2 separate regions of the Homo sapiens genome follow, and region 2 is linked to region 1. The links are contacts of gene promoters, found by promoter capture Hi-C in human tissues and cell types (Jung and others, 2019). All regions are on one chromosome and are shown on one strand. Each heading gives the region's core, a stretch centred on a gene start or on the middle of the fragment in contact. The rest is flanking DNA. Distances are from core to core; before and after follow the strand shown.

The links. Contacts are between HindIII fragments. The study calls those that stand out against the background at their distance.
Region 2: a contact is called between the fragment with the promoter of UCN here and a fragment that was not itself captured in region 1, in 1 of the 25 tissues and cell types used here (liver).

What each region holds. Positions count from the first base shown.
Region 1 is chr2:27,619,489-27,622,844 of GRCh38, forward strand. ZNF512 (zinc finger protein 512) reads left to right here. Exons shown (of 14, transcript NM_032434.4): 14 at 1,665-3,356. The coding sequence ends at 1,973. Among named protein-coding and RNA genes, the nearest start is that of CCDC121, 7.8 kb to the right of the region's middle. The HindIII fragment of the contact is 6,428 bases long and covers 1-3,356 here.
Region 2 is chr2:27,306,913-27,310,268 of GRCh38, forward strand. It overlaps UCN (urocortin), which reads right to left and starts at 1,533. Exons shown (of 2, transcript NM_003353.4): 1 at 1,248-1,533; 2 at 488-996. The coding sequence starts at 983. The coding sequence ends at 609. It overlaps TRIM54 (tripartite motif containing 54), which reads left to right. Exons shown (of 9, transcript NM_187841.3): 9 at 1-523. It overlaps MPV17 (mitochondrial inner membrane protein MPV17), which reads right to left. Exons shown (of 8, transcript NM_002437.5): 8 at 2,580-3,069. The coding sequence ends at 3,000. The HindIII fragment of the contact is 27,300 bases long and covers 1-3,356 here.

The DNA.
Region 1 (3,356 bases), core at 435-2,934:
AAAGAATTGGAACCAACAAATTTCACTTGGTTTGGGGCATGCTCCCAGGCATTTGTTTATTGATTTATGCCTCTATGAATTTTGTGGGTGGTAAAACATCTTTACCCTGTTTCTTCCTCCCTCCATCACATTTTCTTACACTACTTTTTTTTTTTTAACAGAAAATTTCAAACACATGAAAGTAGAGAAAATAGCATAATGAACCCAGTATGCTGTCAGCCATCCTCAGCAATCATCAGTGTATGGCCAATCTTGTGTCATTTATAACCTCACTTTTCTCCTCCCTTAAAGGCTTACTTTAAAGCAAATTCCACATAAAATTTCAGCTGTAAGTGCTTCTTTCAATATATATCTGTAAGAGATAAGGACTTTTGAAAACATATGACCACAAACATCATTATACCTAAAAAAGTTAAGAATTTTAATATTATCATATGTCTAGTTATTATTTAAATTTCCCTGATTATCTTATAATGTTTTTTCAGAGTTGATTTTTCAAATTAGGATCTAAAACAAGGTCTAAATATTGCATTTGTTTGTTTTAATCTAGAGCAGCACTATCCAAAAAAAGTACTGTGAGCCATGTATATAATTTAAAATTTTCTAGTAGCCACATTAAAAAAGTATTTTAAAAGATGAAATTAATGTTAATAATTATTAAGCCCAATATATCTAAAATTATTTTTAACATTAAATCAATAAATTATTGAGATATTTTACATTTTTTTCATAACAAGTCTTTGAGATTTGTTGTATATTTTACATGAAAGCATATCTTAATTTGTTCTACTCACATTTAAACACATCACTTACCATATGTGGCTAGTGGCTATCTCATTGCATGGTGCAAGACTAAAAGCTTCCTCTTCTTTTTTACAAATTTGCCATTTATTGAAGAAACCGGATCACTTGTCACATACATGTACCCACATTCTGGAATTTTGCTGATTGCACCCTATGATAGTATTCCTGTATTCTGGCCATTTCCTTTTTTGCTTTTTGTTGTTGTTGTTTGTTTTTGAGGTACAGGGACCACTGCAGTGGAGTCTTGCAGTGGGGCAGAGAGATTGGGCTCAACTCCCTATTCTGGCTTTTCCTATGAATTGGTAGATTTAGAAGATTGAACAGATCACTTGATAAGATTGAAGTTCTTTCTTTTTTGGCAAAAATACTTCATAATTGGATTTCATGTCCCCTACCCCTTAATTTTTTAAAGTGAGCCTCGAAAATGTTAAGTAATTCGCCCATGGTCACGTATCTAGAAACAGAGCTGGGATTTGCACCCAGGGGGTCTGGCTGCAAAATTTATGCTCTTAGTTACGATGCCGTCATGGAATAAAAATCTCCTATGGCTCAGTGTGTTACATCTCATGATGAGATTTATACTCAGGAGATATAAGAGTGGGATGATGCTAAGTAAACAGACTTTGTAGATCATTTATTAAAGTCCCTAGAATTACGCCTTACAAAATATGTGCTTGTAATAGCTGCTCTGTGTTGGATTTCTCCATCTTAAAATATAGAATCCTGAGGTATGGTTCCATATCTGTTTCCTTCTTACTGTGTTCTGCCCTAATCATGCCTTTTTTCCATTCTTCCTCCACCTTTCTTTATGTTCTTCACTATATTTTCGACTGGATGACATTTCTATTTTGCCTCTCTAGGACTGGTTCGTTGTAAACCCAACAACAACCAAAAGCTTTGAAAAGCTGATGAAGATAAAGCAGCGGCAGCAAGAAGAAGAAAAGCGGAGGCAGCAGCACAGGAGCAGAAGGTCTCTAAGAAGGCGGCAGCAGCCTGGCATTGAGCTTCCCGAGACAGAGCTGAGTCTTAGAGTAGGGAAGGATCAGAGGAGGAATAATGAGGAACTGGTAGTGTCAGCCTCCTGTAAGGAACCAGAGCAGGAGCCAGTGCCAGCACAGTTCCAGAAAGTAAAGCCCCCAAAGACTAATCATAAACGAGGAAGGAAATAGGCAGTCAGTGTAAAAGTGCTCCTAGGAAAGCAGATGTGATGCTGTTGTCACGGGGACCTGTGCTGGGAGGACTGAGTGAAGATTCTTTCAGCTGTTTGTGTAAGGCTGTGACTTTCTCAGCTCCTTCCTCCTGTGTAAATTTCACTGTCTTCCCTTCTTACATTTTGATTCCCCCCTCCCCTTTTAGTAGGTTTTCCTGCTATTCCTCGTCAAGTCCTCTTGTTTTTTTATCTTGCCCAAAGAGCTCCCTCTCAAGGCCAACTATAGGCTCCTCTTGCCCTGTACAAAACTAAGAAACCTCTTTGGTTGTCCTTTCCTTCCTGGGGTATAGAATGTTCTTGGAAGCTCCATTGATTTAGTAGCTGCTCCATCATCTAGCTTGTGAAACCATTCCAAACTAATTTTTTAAAACCATAACTGATTTGTCATTTTGTATTTGTGATATAACAAGTCTAGAAGTTAGAACTGTTGTCATTCACATAATAAGATTACTCTGTCTCCTTGGGAAAAAAACTTTATGGAGGCTGTTTGTCCTCTCAATATGGTTTTAAGATTGAAAGTAAGAAAACGGATTTAGGATGAAAACTCTAGAACTACCCTATGCTGTTTATACTGGGAAATGCTTTGTACCAAGTAGCAGTGACTAGACCCACAGACATGAAAAGCAACCTTAGGAGTAAAGTGACCCAAACATTAAAATGACAGGAAAGAGAAAGTAGAAGCAGCAATAAATACTGCCCCAACTTTCCTGGAGCCCGAGGCCTCATCCATAGCTATGATCACTTGCCCTCTGAAGCTTATTTTTGCTTCTTTGGTTTTAAGAATTGAGAAATATCACATTGCCCCTGATGTTTTGACAGTCTCCTAGTGCTCCTGGTAGTGCCACTAAGGGAAAACCAAGGTGCGCATTCCTTCTCCCTGGACTTTACCTTACTTGTTAGTCTACGCCCCACTGTTTCCACCCATCCCCTTAGCCAACCTCTGTCTTTTTGAATTTTCTGAGAATATTGTCCTATCCTCTTTTATATATGGAGTTCTCTCCTCTTTATATCCTGAGACTTTGACACCAGATGTAGATATTTATCTGGAGCTGGAAAGAAAAATTCTTTTTCTGTACCTCATGCCTATCTGGTAATGTTTAATGGGTTATTTCTCTTTGAGGGTGGCTTTCTCTGGAACATTGGTTAGAGCAGCTTTGTTGTCGTGTTTCTGGATTCTCTTCCCCATTTTGCGTAAATATTGGTCTTATATATTCTTGCCTATTTTGTGGCATATGCCACATAAAAAATGAACCTGATATAGACAAGTACTACCTTTTCAAATTCTGAAAGGCTATTACCACTTTAACTCTTTGTGCTCCTCCAAATAGCTTTAAAATGTGGG
Region 2 (3,356 bases), core at 283-2,782, 310 kb before region 1:
GAGCCCGCGCTAGAGTCGGGGAGGATCTGCGCAGAGACCGCAGCATCACCCAAATCGGCGCCGGCCCCGGGAGGATCTCAATAAAGAACTCGAGCGTCCCAGACCCGTATCTCCTTTCGCTGCCCAACCCCGCAGCCTGGGCTTCGAAGGCGACCCGCCCACCATCCTGCCCTTCCCAGAACCTGAGACCGTCTGGGGGGCGGAAGCCAAATGAACCCCTATTGGGCACCTCTGTGATGCCAGGAGCGAACTGGTGAGCCCAGCGCCCTGGGAAGAGGGCCGAGGGCGGGGCGGTGGTGCCGGGACCTCTGAGGTCCTGGGGATTTGGGGACCCTTGGGGTCCACATGCACCTGGCTGACCTGGCTGAAAGCCGCTGTCTCGGAGCCCCCCACAGCATTTTGTTCCCCTCCCGCTGGCCCGGGGGCCCCACCTTCCCACGGGTTCCCACGCTGCTGTGACTGCCCTGCCTCTACGACAAAAGCCAACGGGTCTTCAGTACTTTTATTAAAAAATAGTCACGCAGACAGTGCCCTGGTGGCTCTGCCCCGCATCCCAACTCTGGGGTGGGGGAAAGGGGTCAACGTTTTCGCAGCCCCAAACCGGGCCATCACTTGCCCACCGAGTCGAATATGATGCGGTTCTGCTCGGCGCGCTCCCGCTGGCTCTGCGTCCGCGCCAGCTCCAGCAGGGTCCGCAGCAGGTGAAAGGTGAGGTCAATGGACAGAGAAGGGTTGTCCCGCCGCGGCCGCTCGCCTGCCGTCCCGAGTCCCAATCGGCCGGGCCCCGCGCGGCGCGGGAAGCGCTCCGCCAGCAGCAAGAGGAGCGCGCGGGCCCCGCCACCCTGGTTCCGTGCCCCGGGGCTCCAGCGCAGACTCGGGTCCTGGACCCCGGCCGCCTCGGGGCTCCTCTGGCTGCTCCCAGGGCACAGCTGTACCAGGAGCAGCAGCGCGGCCAGCAGCGCTGCGCGTCCCGCCTGCCTCATGGTGCCGCCGGCCCTGGACACACAGGGGCAGCGCAGGGTGAGGTGCGCCTGGGACAGCTGCAGGCCGCCGCTCCCCTCCCCGCGCTCGCCCGGCGACCCCTCCGGCCGCCGCCCAATGCCCGCAGCCTGCCCTCCAGCCCCAGCCACTGCGCCAGTGCTGTTCCATCCCTTCCACCCAGCCTCCCTCCCCGGAGGAGCGTGGTGGCTGAGCTGAGCGGAGTCCTGGTGCAGGGGGAGGCTGGGCGGACGCTCTGAGCCACTCACAGGTTGTCGGCGAGCGTCTGTACGGTCCAAGATTGAGCTCCAGTCTCTGTCCCTCGGGGCAGGCTGAAGACGCCTTGGGGAACACAGGGTCTGTCCCGGGGCTGTCGCCAGCCTTATATAGTGCCAGGACAGCTCCGACTGACGTCAGCGAAGAACATGCACTGATTGTAGAAGCAATGACAGCCACAGCTTCGAGTCTGACGGCTGGCGGGCCCCCGGAGGGGCGCACCTCCCTACACCAGCCTTCGTGCCCCTGGGGCTAGCGCTGGAAGCAGCACTGGACGCAGGAAAGCGAGAAGCCGGCTGGGGCGTAAAGACTGCTCTGGGACCCACGGGAGTCCCTCGCCCCGCTTAGAACAGCCAGCAATGACTAGGGCCGTCCCCAGACCAGACTAGTCCGGGTCGCGTGTTCTGACACACGAAAGGGAGGCGGGACCGTGAGGCTGTCCATGGTGCTGACCCCGTCCTCTGCCTCTAGAAGTGGCCAGAAATGTGAGAACGCTGTGCCGCTGGAACCCACTGCCTCCCTGCAGCTATCAGTTCTGCAAATGCAGGCATCAGGAGTCCACCGCTGGCACTCAGCCAACACAGTGGGACCCACTGAGAGGCAGTCTGCCACAACCAAAGTCTCCCAGCATTCTTATCTTTTTCCAGCCCCAGGATCCAAATTGTAGGGCTGTCTGACAGGCACCATGTAACAGAGGGTCTCTAGCATCCGAGTGCTTTCAGACCACAAATGGCTGGCCCATCTGCTTTTGAGTTTGCCAAAGTAGTTTAGCAAAGTTCAGTTTCTCTCCTGGGAATCATAGCAGCAGTGTAACTCTGCCCATGAGCAGCAAAGAAATATGGGTTCAAGTTTCTGCTAACTCCTGGTGTGGACAGGTCACCTCCCTCCTACCAACCTCAGGGTCCTCATTTGTAAGACTGGGCTTGGCCAGGCGCGGTGGCTCACGCCTGTAATCCCAACACTTTGGGAGGCCGAGGCAGGCGGATCACGAGGTCAGTAGTTTGAAACCAGCCTGGCCAATATGGCGAAACCCCATCTCTACTAAAAATACAAAAATTAGCCGGGCGTGGCGGTATGCGCCTGTGGTCCCAGCTACTCAGGAGGCTGAGGCAGGAGAACTGCTTGAACCCAGGAGGCGGAAGCTGCAGTGAGGCAAGATCGCGCCACTGCACTCCAGCCTGGGAGACAGAGCAAGACCCTGTCTCAAAAAAAAAAAAAAAAAAAAAAAAAAAAATTGGGCTTGGTGGTCTCTTGGCTTCTTTCCAGCTCTAGAAATGACTCCCCAATAGTTTTCTGCTTAAAAACTTACTCATTACCACTGCAGATTCCGGATTACATATTTAATAACATATTTACTGAGGCACCATATAAAGGGTTCCGGGAGTCTCTAAAGAGCTGGAGCTACAAGAAGCCTAGGCAGGGTTAGAGTAACAAATGTGTCTATGAAGAGTGGGGATGAGTGGCATTTGCTGGGATATGGGTGTAAAGTTGATAAGGTCATGAAGGTTCAACAGATATTTATGGAGTGCCTAGTATGTGGTGGGAATAAGACTATTATCAAGGGCTCTAAAGCAGTCAGTGTACATTTTAGAGTGAAGAGGGGCATTGCAGGGTGCTAGTCCTCTTAAGCTCTGACCGGCAACCCAACCCCGTGGAAACTGGTATGCCCACTTTGAGGAGGTTGTCTGACCGTTCCAGGGTCAAGCTGCATCACTGCAAGGTGGAAACGATGGAGTGAGGCAGGCTTAGAGCCGATGTGCCTTCCAGGACAGGTAGGAGTTCCAGATAACAGCAACACATTGGACAACGGCCAACCTAAGGAACAGGAATAACACAATGAAGAGGAGGAAGGCTAAGCAGTGAGCAAGGGCTGGAGATGGGAGCATGAAATGGCAAAGGAGGGATCATGACAAAGGATTGGCAGGTTTAGGTCTCTTTCCTTCAGCACCTTTTTTTTGAGATGGAGTCTCCTCTGTTGCCCAGGCTGGAGTGCAGTAGCACAATCTTGGCTCACTGCCTCCCGGGTTCAATCAATTCTCGTGCCTCAGCCTCCCAAGTAGCTGGGACTACAGGTGTGCTCCACCACACCTGGCTAATTTTTG